Regions from separate parts of the Homo sapiens genome. Here regions 1, 2 and 4 are each linked to region 3. The links are contacts of gene promoters, found by promoter capture Hi-C in human tissues and cell types (Jung and others, 2019). All regions are on one chromosome and are shown on one strand. The core of a region is centred on a gene start or on the middle of the fragment in contact, and the rest is flanking DNA. Distances in the headings are between cores, read along the strand shown. Region 1 overlaps SYN2 (synapsin II). Region 2 has its middle 11 kb from the start of HDAC11-AS1. Region 3 holds the start of RAF1 (Raf-1 proto-oncogene, serine/threonine kinase). Region 4 holds the start of NUP210 (nucleoporin 210).

Region 1 (2,837 bases), core at 79-2,578, 520 kb after region 3:
CTAATTTTTTTTGTATTTTTAGTAGAGACGGGTTTCTCTGTGTTAGTTAGGATGGTCTTGATCTCCTGACCTCGTGATGTGCCTGCCTCAGCCTCCCAAAGTGCTGGGATTACAGGCGTGAGCCACCACGTCTGGCCACAAATTTCTTTAAGAGAACCCATACACTAGGAGCCTGTAACAACCAGGCTGTCAAAGTGGTGGCAGGTGCTACTATTATTCCCAGTTTGTAGATGAAGAAACTGGGGCACAGGTTCGGTCAGAGAGTTGATAAGCAGTGAAATCACCCAGAAAAAGCTGCTAATAGCAGGATCACCCTGTGTGGCTAGGAGAGAGTCAAATTCTGACAAGTACCGGGGGTGCACGTGGGTTAGGACACGTGTGCCGTAGGAAGGACATGTGACTGAGGAGAAAGGGGAGGTCCACAAAAAAGACACTTGGTAAAGGTCTCACATATGCTCTTCTGTGATTGGCAACATACTAAAATCACACTCTGTTAGCGTGTTTCTGCAGAATCTAGGATTCCAGATGCCTCAGGCCACGCAGAAGGAAAGGCTGAACAAGTGGAGCTTGGGAACCCAACCCCCTCCTTAACCATGGCAGCTCCCAGCCCTCCTGACTACTTGTCCATTGATCTTTTTCTTACACTCCAAGCTCTCCCTGGCTTCAAAAGGAAAAAGAAAGCTGTTAGTTCCAGGGTGAAAAAAAAGATCAAGATCAGAAGTGACAGATCTGTTTGGTTAACACACACACATACACACACACATACACACACACACACACCCCTCTTCAGCTCTCTGAGTGGTGTAAAGGCGTGGAAACTTCACAATTAGACACAAGTTCCAGGAACCTTGGCAATCCAGGGCGTGTGACAGCTGAAATTTCATTTTTACAAAACAAGAAGGGCTTACTGCATCTTGGGGTCCAGAAGTCCCTCCTAGGGGCCTGGAAGATGCAGGGTCTGGATCCTAGCCTTTTACCTGGGGGAAGGGGGCCTCACTTTCCACCCATGGCTTGTCACAGAAGTTATAAATGGATTCCAGTGAGTTGATGCAGGGGAGGCCTGCATACTGCAAGCCAATGAGGATGTGATTAGGGGTAGGTGTTACCTTCTGAGAGGGCCAGCCTGAAGTAGCAGAGCCAGCAGAGGAGCTGGGTCCCCTCAGTGGTCGGAGGGGAAGCCAGAGTGCCCCCAAAGCCATCATAAGTCACTCTCCCTCCTAGCCCCACTTTTTCTATCTGCCTAAAAGTTTCCACTGCCCTCCTAGATTTCCAAATTGGCCAAGGAAGAGAAAACCAGAACAGTTTCCTCCTTATATAGGAGCCTCAATCTATGGGAGAGGCAGTGGGATGTAGAGAAATCCTGGCACTGTAACTTTGGCAAGTTACTTAATCCTTTTTGGGTTTTGTTTCTCTGTAAAAAGTGACAATAATGATATCTTCCTTGTAAGGTGAGGATTAAATGAAATTAACAGAAAAATCTCAGAAACTGGCATCCTATAGTAAGTAGTTTTCTACACCTTACTTTCCTTCTTTAATTTTCATATCTCTATCATGAAAGGTTAAGGTCAGAATTAGGGTTAGGCTTTGATGATCTCCAAGACACTTCTAGCTCATAAGTATTTGATTCACATGCATGAGGATAAATTTCATTTTCAGGTTGCTGAACCACTTGGTAGGACTCTGTCACTACCTGAGTTGGACTATTCCCTTGGTTGTCACTGGGCTCAGGCCTTTCCAAAAGTTTAATCATTCTAGGAGGCAAGAAACAGACATTTTTATCATTGCAGCCTATGGCCAAGGGCAGAGCCTACAGACCTATAAGGGCTTCTTCACGGTATCTTTGTGCGACTTTGTTGTGAGGCCAAAGGTCCACTCCGCAGCAAAGGTGCTGAGCCTGTGACAGGTGATGCTGTGCTATTCTGATGGCCAGCCCTCCCCCATGTCCCAGGGGAAGCTCCTCTCACATCCTCTTAGCTGGGGCCAACTGCATCTTGAGGACCCTCCTAGGGGCCTGGAAGATGTAGGGACCCTCCTGGGGCTGGGGCCTACTGCATCTTGAGTCCCTGCTAGGGACCTGGGAGATGTAGGGCCTGAATCCTACCCTTTTACTTGGGGGAAGGGGGCCTCACTCACCACCCATGGCTTGTCACAGAAGTTGTATATGGATTCCAGTGAGTTGATGCTGGGGAGGCCTGCATACTGCATACCAATGATCAGGTGGCGGAAGTCCTCATTCTCCGCCATGCCAAATGCATGCTGCCGGATGAGCACGAAGTCTGGCCGGAAGGACCTGGTGAGAAGGTAGAGGCAGGTTTGCCATTAACCAGCACTTCAGGCCATACATCATTTTGGTTCCCATTTCCAAAACCCAAGATAAAGAAGAGGGCTTAGGAACCACCTAGTCCAAGCCCCTCATTTTACTGTTGTTATTTTAGAGACAGGTCTTACTCTGTTGCCCAGGCTGAAGTGCAGTGGCACAACCATAGCTCACTGTAACCTCAAACTCCTGGGTTCAGGTGATCCTCCTGCCTTAGCCTGCTAAGTAAGTAGTACTACAGGCACACATCACCATGCCCAGCTAATTCTTTATGTTTTGGAGAGACAGGGTCTTACTTTGTTGCCCAGGCTTTTCTTGAACTCCTGGGCTCAAGTGATCCTCTCGCCTCAGCGTCTCAAGTAGCTAGGACTATAGGCAAGTGCCATGACCCCTGGCTAATTTTTTCATTGTTTGGAGAGATGAGGTCTCACTATGTTGCTCAGGCTGATCTCAAACTCCTAGGCTCAAGTGATTCTCCTACGTCAGTCACCCAAAGTGCTGGGAGTGCATGCATGAGCAA
Region 2 (2,906 bases), core at 396-2,895, 800 kb before region 3:
TTAGCCAGGCGTGGTGGCAGGTACCTGTAATCCCAGCTACTGGGGAGGCTGAGGAAGGAGAATCATTTAAATCCGGGAGGTGGAGTTTGCAGTGAACTGAGATTGTGCCACTGCACTCCAGCCTGGGCGACAGAGCAAGACTACATCTCAAAAAAACAAAAAAAATAAAAAAACAAAAAACACACACACAAACAGAAAGAAATGTGCTTCATGTTACTCCCACCTGAAAAGTTTTCCCAGCTAATGGAACCTACACCAGAAGCTGTGTGAAATAAGCCATCCATGGACTGGACATTGCAGCTTCAGTGACAAGTAGGAATGAATTTGGCAACATGGGAGGGTAAGGGAAGCATTTGAAAATTTAACAAGATTTGGCCACCAGTGTCTGAGTTTTAACTGTAGTAAAAACCAGCCAGGCCGGGCGCAGTGGCTCACGTCTGTAATCCCAGCACTTTGGGAGGCCGAGGCAGGCAGATCACCTGACGTCAGGAGTTCGAGACCAGCCTGGCCAACATGGTGAAACTCCGTCTCTGCTAAAAAATACAAAAATTAGCCAGGCGTGGTGGCAGGAGCCTTAATCCCAGCTACTTGGGAGGCAGAGGCAGGAGAATCATTTGAACCTGGGAGGCAGAGGTTGCAGTGAGGTGAGATCGAGCCATTGCACTCAAGCCTGGGGCACAAGAGCAAGACTTCTCTCACACATACACACACACACACACACACACACACACACACACAAACACCAGCCAGGCACGGTGGCTCATGCCTGTAATCCCAGCACTTTGGGAGGCCGAGGTTGGCCGATCACCTGAGGTCAGGAGTTCAACACCAGCCTGGACAGCATGGTGAAACCTCATCTCTACTAAAAACACAAAATTAGCCAGGCATGGTGGCGGGCACCTGCAATCCCAGCTGCTCGGGAGGCTGAGGCAGGAGAATTGCTTGAACCCAGGGGGCAGTGAGCCAAGATCACACCAGTGCACTCCAGCCTGGGTAAAAAAAGAGCGAAACTCCATCTCGAAAAAAAAAAACACAAAAATCATGAACTTTACCATATTAACCATGGGTAAGTATACAGTTCAGTAGTGTTAAATATCCTTGTGCAACAGGTCTCTAGAACTATTTTTTCTTTTTCTTTTTCTTTTCCTTTTTCTTTTTTCTTTTTTTTTTTTTTTTTTTTTTTTTTTTGAGATGGAGTCTCACTCTCTTGCCCAGGCTGGAGTGCGATGGCACAATCTCTGCTTACCGCAACCTCCACCTCCTGAGTTCAAGTGATTCTCCTGCCTCAACCTCCTGAATAGCTGGGATTACAGGCACCCGCCACCACCCCCTGCTAATTCTTGTATTTTTAGTAGAGATGGGGTTTCACCATGTTGGTCAGGATGGTCTTGAACTTCTGACCTGAGGTGATCTGCCCACCTCAGCCTCCCGAAGTGCTGGGATTACAGGCTTGAGCCACCACGCCTGGCCCTCTGGGACTTTTTTATCTTGCAAAACTGAAACTGTCTTCTCCTTATACACTAACTCGCTCTTTCCCCTCCCCTTTGCCCCGGCACCCCCCATTCCATTTTCTGTCTATGAAATTGACTGCCCTAGGTACTTCATGTAAGTGGAATCACACAGTATTTTTCCTTTTGTGACTGGCTTATTCACTTAGCATAATGTCCTCAAGATTCATCCATGTCGTAGCTTAGCTCAGAATTCCTTTCCCTTTTAAGGCTAAGTAATATTCCATCATATGAACAGAGTACATTTTCTGTATTCATTCATCTGTCAATAGACATTTAAGTTCTTTCCACCTCTTGGCTATTGTGAATAATGCTGCTATGAACATGTACGTGCAAATATCCATTGGAGTCTCTGCTTTCACTTCTTTTGGACATGTACCCAGAAGTGGGATTGCTGGATCATATGGCAATTCTATCTTTAATTTTTTTAGGAACCATCATACTGTTTTCCACAGCAATTATACCATTTTGCGTTCCCACATCAGAACAAGGGTTCTATTTCTTCGCATTCTTGCCAAGAGCTGTTATTTTCTTTTTTTTTTTTTCAATAGTGGCAATCCTAATAGTGTGACATTTCACTTCCTAATAGAAGTGACATTTCACTGTGGGTTTTTTTTAATTTTTTATTATTATAAATATATTTTTGAGACAGGGTCTCACTGTGTCACCCAGGCTGGAGTGCAATGCAGTGTCTCTATCCCAGCTAACTGCAACCTCCACCTCTCGGGTTCAAGTGATTGTCCCACCTCAGCCTCCCCAGTAGCTGGGATTACAGGCGTGTGCCACCACTTCCGGCTAATTTTTGTATTTTTTGGTAGAGACGGGGTTTCACCATATTGGCCCAGCTGATCTCTAACTCCTGACCTCAGGGGATCAGCCCGCCTCAGCCTCCCAAAGTATTGGGATTACAGGCATGAGCCACCACGCCCAGCCTTCATTGTGGTTTTGATTTGCACTTCCCTACTAGTTAGTGGTGCTGAGCACCTTTTCGTGTGCTTGTTGGTATTTGTATATCTTCTCTGGAGAAATGTCTATTCAAGACCCTTATTCATTTTTTATTGTGTTGTTGTTAAGTTTTAGGACTTCTTTATATATTCTGGTTTTTGGCCTCTTGTCATATATATGATTTGTAAATATTTTCTCCTATTCTGTAGGTCGCCTTTTCACTCTGTTGGTTTTTTTGAGGTGAAGAAATGTTTAAGTTTGATGTAATTCCATTTGTCTATTATTGCTTTTGCTGTCTATCCTTTTGGTATCCTATCCAAGAAATTATTGCCAAACCCAATGTCATGAAGATTTTCCCCTGTGTTTTCTTCTAAGGGTTTTATAGTTTTAGCTCTTACATTTAGGTGTTTCATCCGTGTTAGCGTGTGCTTTCATTATTTAAATACACTCTGC
Region 3 (2,882 bases), core at 114-2,613:
TTTTTTTTTTTTGAGACAAGAGTTTCGCTCTTGTTGCCCAGGCTGGAGTGCAATGACGCGATTTCGGCTCACCGCAATCTCCGCCTCCTGGGTACAAGCAATTCTCCTGCCTTAGCCTCCCGAGTAGATGGGATGACAGGCATGCACCACCATGCCCAGCTAATTTGGTATTTTTATTTTTTTATATTTATTTATTTTTTCGAGACGGAGTCTCGCTCTGTCGCCCAGGCTGGAGTGTAATGGTGCGATCTGGGCTCACTGCAACCTCTGCCTCCCGGGTTCAAGCGATTCTCCTGTCTCAGCCTCCTGAGTAGCTGGGATTACAGGCGCCCGCCACCACGCCCGGCTAATTTTTGTATTTTTAGTAGAGACGGGGTTTCTCCATGTTGGTCAGGCTGGTCTCGAACTCCCGACCTCAGGTGATCCGCCTGCCTCGGCCTTCCAAAGTGCTGGGATTACAGGAGTAATCCCAAAAAAAGCGCCGGGCCCTTTTTTTGTTGTTTTTTAAATTCAGTAACTATCTAGTTCATTCTTGGATGGATGACAACCCAGATTGGATGTGTAGCAGCGTTCTCTTAACCAGTTTCCTATTAATCTTCATTTCATCCCCAGTGTTTCTCCAGAATGCAAATAATATGGCATTAAATATCTTCACACATAGCTTTTTGTGTATGTGTATACTTATTTCTCTAGAATTAGTGTCTAGAAGTGAAACTGCCGGGAGGAAGGATATATACTTTTAACATGTCCAAGTTCCACTGTGATAGCGCTGCGAGGGCACACAACAGGTTTCAATATACCTTGGACCAAACCGGATATTATCAGTTTTTTTAACTTGTTGCTAATGTGATGGGGGAAAAATGAACTCGGAATTTACACACAAGGAAAAGACCGTTTAAGGTTCAGGGACTGTCCACATAGCTGTCAAGTGGCGGAGCCGTGATTTGGTATTAAAGTGCCCGGAGAGGACGCGTCAAAGTTGGACACTGTGCCCTGTGTCCTGAGGCACGTCTGGTGATCGCTGGGCCTTGCAATGCTGGGCAGGCAGGCCTTCCTCTCCCCTTCTAGGCCTCTGGCCACTCCTGGCTGGCCGAAAGCCGGTTCTTCTCGATTACCGAGTGCCTCTCCTGAAAGCAAGTCAGCGTCGCCTAACCTCTTCAGCTTCGAAATGGCGGCCACCAGATCGCTAGGCCACGCCCCGGGGGCGGGGCCTGAGTTCAGGCCAGAGCGATGGATGCCCGAGCCAAGTTAGAAGTCGACTGCCAGTAGGGCTCGCGCAGAATCGGAGAGCCGGTGGCGTCGCAGGTCGGGAGGACGAGCACCGAGTCGAGGGCTCGCTCGTCTGGGCCGCCCGAGAGTCTTAATCGCGGGCGCTTGGGCCGCCATCTTAGATGGCGGGAGTAAGAGGAAAACGATTGTGAGGCGGGAACGGCTTTCTGCTGCCTTTTTTGGGCCCCGAAAAGGGTCAGCTGGCCGGGCTTTGGGGCGCGTGCCCTGAGGCGCGGAGCGCGTTTGCTACGATGCGGGGGCTGCTCGGGGCTCCGTCCCCTGGGCTGGGGACGCGCCGAATGTGACCGCCTCCCGCTCCCTCACCCGCCGCGGGGAGGAGGAGCGGGCGAGAAGCTGCCGCCGAACGACAGGACGTTGGGGCGGCCTGGCTCCCTCAGGTAGGTGGCAGGACCGGGTCGTGGATGCCGGGGGAGCCGGGCGGCGGGGCTGAGGGATCGGCTTCCAGGGCGACCGGGCCTGGGTGGCGCTGATGGAGCGGCCCCGCGGCTGCCGGGCAGAGGGCTTGGGCCAGGCCGTTGTCACCCTGGGGTAGCGTTGGGCGGGGGCCCCGGAGTCCGGTGTCATGGCCGGCGAGCCGAGTTCCCACATCCCACTCAAATTTCCTTGTGTTTGGCGGAAACGTGCCAACGCCACCCTTATGCCATGCGCATTCCTCATATTTGGCAGTGGGAAAATCCGCCCAGAGCTGCCCCATATCTGTTGTCACTTGGATGGGCCAATTCCTTTTCTCTTGGGCCGCCGAATGTGGGACCCGGGCTTGCACCCTTTCTCAGGGTACTTCAGTCAAGTGACACCCTTTTAGAGACGACGTGAGGAATCGGGTAAGAGAGGAGGAAACTGGCCAGTGCCCTACCACAAAGGCACAGGGGCCTCTTCTTGGGTATCAGGACTAGCCTTGGGTATCAGGACTCTGGGTTATTAATGAAAGGTTTGGGATACTTATAGAGGATTGGCCTCAGGACGCTTTGGAATGAAGAGCCAGGGCTGTCTTTTGTGTGACGCGAGAGCCGCCGGGACGCTTCAGCTCTGCAGCTGCTGAGGCTCTGCGAGCGAGTCGATGCCCAAGAGAGAGGGGTTTGGACGTCGTGAGAGGCGAGGCGGCCGTGTTCATTCATTGTTCTCGTTCTAGGGCTCTGGGTGTGCCCCTGGTATTCATTCTGTGGTGGGAAGAAGGAATGGAACTTAGTGTATCCTTGAGATGTGAACGGGTTCTAGGGGGTCACTTAATCTAAGTGGAAAATGAATTCAAGGCACGTTCATTGAGCGTTTCTGCTTGCCTGGTCCTCTGTGGGCTGAGTGGAGAGACTCTGCCCTCCCTGCGCTCCTAAGGCGTGAAAACAATGCAGTGTGATAAGAATTGGCTTATCAAGTGTTATGGGGATTTAGAACAGTTAGTTTTGCTTGGGGAGGAGTTGAGGAAGCTTCTACACTCGAGGAGACTTCTGAGTCGAGTTTTGAAACACCTGTGAGTAAGTGCTCATCGGGTGAGGAGGAGCTCAGGGAACAGCTGGTACAAAGGCTTAGAGCCATGTGGGAGTTGGGATGAGTTTGGGGAGCAGCAAATTGCCTGGGGTGCAGGAAGGAAATGGTGA
Region 4 (2,857 bases), core at 56-2,555, 760 kb before region 3:
TGTTTTTTGTTTCTTCAAAGGGAGCCCGTTGGAATTCCCCTCCCAGAGCACCTGGTTCCACACAGGGCCGACCCTCACCCCCTTAGTTCTGGTTATCTCCAGAGATTTCCCCCAACACACACATTCCCTGGTCTAGGGCCCTCAGGCTTCGAGGGTGACCCCAAACACCCCGCATCACCATCCAAAAGCCCCATGATCCCTGAGGGGCAGGCTCAGCCTATGCGGGCCTCGCTGAAGCCCAGTGCGGTGTCTATGCCCAACCCAGGGGCCGCCGCCTCCAAAAAGCCTTCCTAGCCTTACTGACATTTATCCTCTCCTTCCTGGTCACCCAGTGGCATCGTTGTGTGTCTTCCTGGTTACAGTCAGCATCCACTTCCTGCACTCCTCAGACAGCCGGCCAGTGCACCCTCACCCCACCCTTTCCTGACCTCCCGCTAGGCTGGGCCTTCTCTGCAAGGCTAGATTCATATTTTAGCGGCACCAAGCAGTCAGGTGCCTGCTGACGCATGCCTTCATGCAATTCACGACAGACAGCTAAAAGCCACAGAGCACAGCGCGGAATCTAAGGCCTTCCATTGGTGTGCAGGTGGATTCCGCGGTGCTAAACTTTCTTTTGTGGGTGTGGGGGCCGTGGAGGGGGTTGTGCTCTGGCAGCGTTGGCGCCCTAAATGACCTATAGGTAACCTCTAATGGCTTCCGCAGGGGGTGCAGTGCGGAGGACAAGAGCTTGGGGCTCTCTGGCTGAGTGATCTGGGGGCCATTCAACCGGTTTTTTCCTGGAGAAATGGGAATCTTAAGGCCTCTCTGGAAAGGGTGTGAGGGGGTCGAGGGGGAGCGGGCCCCGGGCCTTCAGCGCTTCAGCAGGTGGCTTCCCTTTGCGAGCCCGGGGTCCCTCTTCTGGGAAGCATGGGCTGGGACAAGGCAGGCGCCGGTTTTCTGCATCCCAAATGTCCTGGGGCATGTGTCCCTTCCTTGCTGACCGTGGGTCCGGGCCAGAGCGCAAGGTCCAAAGCCGGCGGCTTGGCTCCACCGCCAGGGGCAAATACCAGGGCGGGATGCGTGCTGCGGGGCGCCCCGGGGGCTCCCCCTTGGGACTTCTAGGGTCCAGGGGTCCCCGCGGGCGCGCCCCAAGCCTTCTCCCTCAGCTCCGGGGGCCCGGGCGCGCGCCCATCCCCCAGCCCCGCGTCCCTGCGCGAGGGCCGGGCTGGGGGTGGGGTCGCCGCGAGCTCGGCCCCCAGAGTTCCCGCGCTCAGGCCCAGGAAGCGGCGGCCGCCGACGGCCCTCGCCCCGCCCCCGCGCTCATCACCTGCTGGCCTGGCGCGCGCGCGGGCGGGAGCGGAGGGCAACGGGGCGGCGCGGGCGGCCGGGCGCAGGGTCGCGGGAGGTGACGCGCGGCGAGGATGGCGGCGCGGGGCCGGGGGCTGCTGCTGCTGACGCTGTCGGTGCTGTTGGCGGCGGGCCCCTCCGCCGCTGCGGCCAAGCTCAACATCCCCAAAGTGCTGCTGCCCTTCACGCGGGCCACGCGCGTTAACTTCACGCTGGAGGCCTCGGAGGGCTGCTACCGCTGGTGAGGCGCGCGGCCGGGCCGGGCGGGCGCCGTGGGCCGGGCTGGGCCTTCGCGCTGAGAGGCTGGGCGGGCGCCGGGAGGCCGGCAGAGCCGGCAGGTGCGCGGCGCGCTCTCGCTGGGCGCTAGGCTGCAGCACTCGGAGCGGCGGGTGCGCGTGGGTCGCCACCACTGCTCATGTCATGGCGCCGTCCGGGCCTCCGCGCCGCTGAGGCGCGAGCAGAGCGGGCGCAGCCTGGCGGCCGTGACCCGCGTGTTCTGGGTTGTGCGGGAGGAGGGGTGGCCTGGGGAGCGGCGTCTGGGACCGCAGGGCCCAAGCCGGCCGGGCCCGAGCCGGCCTGACCCGGGAGGGGGCGCCGGGGCAGCTGGGCCGCACTTCCCTTGAGTCTGGGACCCCAGCTCGGGTTTGTCTGTGACCGCCCTCGCCCTGGCGTGGGAAGTGAGTCTGTGAAACGAAGCGCAGCGCCTAGCGTCGCGGGGAGGAACGGAGACCCTGGAGGAAAGGAGTTTTGGAGGGAAGCCCAGGGGCCGCTTTACAGAGGCGAAGTGAGACGAGGCAGGCCGGCGCTTCCCCTCAGGCTGCCTCGGCGCGGGTCCTGATGCTCAGGGCATTTCCATCACCCTCCCTCTCGGGTTGGGAGTTCTCCAAGGGGTCGGATGCGGAGTGTGACCCTGTGGAACCACAGGGACCCATGAAACCAGAGACCGACACTGACAGGGCGGTGCAGTCCAGCCCTTCCATTTTGCAGACCAGGGGAAATGGAGCTCCTGCCCCTGGCAAGGCTGCGTGGGCACGACTGAGCGCCCTTAGCTTCCCAGCCCAGCCGTCCTAGGGGTGAAAAGATGGGCTTCCGCCCTTCCCACCCCCAGGATGCTCAGTAGTTGCTCCCTTTATTTCTGTTTCAAGACTGGGTCAAGGTTGAGGCAGAACGGGGTGTGACCACGTGACAGCCATGTGTGTAAGCCTGGACATGTGTGTGTCAAGCCTGTTTGAGTATTAGTCTGTGCGTGTATGTAAGTGTGATGCCCGAAGCTCAGACCAGCCAGCTTTCTCTGTTGCTTGCACTATTTGCCCTATTTCTTTCTTTCTTTTTTTTTTTTTTTTTTTTTTTTTGAGACGGAGTTTTGCTTTGTCGTCCATGCTGACGTGCAGTGGTGCGATTTCGGCTCACTGCAACCTCCACCTCCCGGGTTCAAGCGATTCTCCCGCCTCGTAGCTGGGATTACAGGTGCAGGCCACCTGGCTAATTTTGTTTGTTTGTTTGTTTGTTTTTAGAGTGCACTCCAGCCCTT

The links. The method cuts DNA at HindIII sites, captures the fragments that hold promoters and counts their contacts. A contact is called where the count stands out against the background at its distance.
Region 1: a contact is called between a fragment that was not itself captured here and the fragment with the promoter of RAF1 in region 3, in 1 of the 25 tissues and cell types used here (spleen).
Region 2: a contact is called between a fragment that was not itself captured here and the fragment with the promoter of RAF1 in region 3, in 1 of the 25 tissues and cell types used here (adrenal gland).
Region 4: a contact is called between the fragment with the promoter of NUP210 here and the fragment with the promoter of RAF1 in region 3, in 1 of the 25 tissues and cell types used here (spleen).

The regions. Positions count from the first base shown.
Region 1 is chr3:12,145,132-12,147,968 of GRCh38, reverse strand. SYN2 (synapsin II) reads right to left here. Exons shown (of 13, transcript NM_133625.6): 4 at 2,134-2,290. Among named protein-coding and RNA genes, the nearest start is that of TIMP4, 12 kb to the left of the region's middle. The HindIII fragment of the contact is 7,152 bases long and covers 1-2,837 here.
Region 2 is chr3:13,467,720-13,470,625 of GRCh38, reverse strand. No RefSeq gene overlaps it. Among named protein-coding and RNA genes, the nearest start is that of HDAC11-AS1, 11 kb to the left of the region's middle. The HindIII fragment of the contact is 7,067 bases long and covers 1-2,906 here.
Region 3 is chr3:12,662,598-12,665,479 of GRCh38, reverse strand. RAF1 (Raf-1 proto-oncogene, serine/threonine kinase) reads left to right here and starts at 1,363. Exons shown (of 17, transcript NM_002880.4): 1 at 1,363-1,667. RefSeq lists enhancers at 988-1,057, 1,098-1,447, 1,059-1,670, 1,671-2,281 and a silencer at 1,638-1,857. The HindIII fragment of the contact is 15,309 bases long and covers 1-2,882 here.
Region 4 is chr3:13,418,770-13,421,626 of GRCh38, reverse strand. It overlaps NUP210 (nucleoporin 210), which reads left to right and starts at 1,305. Exons shown (of 40, transcript NM_024923.4): 1 at 1,305-1,567. The coding sequence starts at 1,401. RefSeq lists silencers at 1,071-1,470, 1,521-2,090. The HindIII fragment of the contact is 28,440 bases long and covers 1-2,857 here.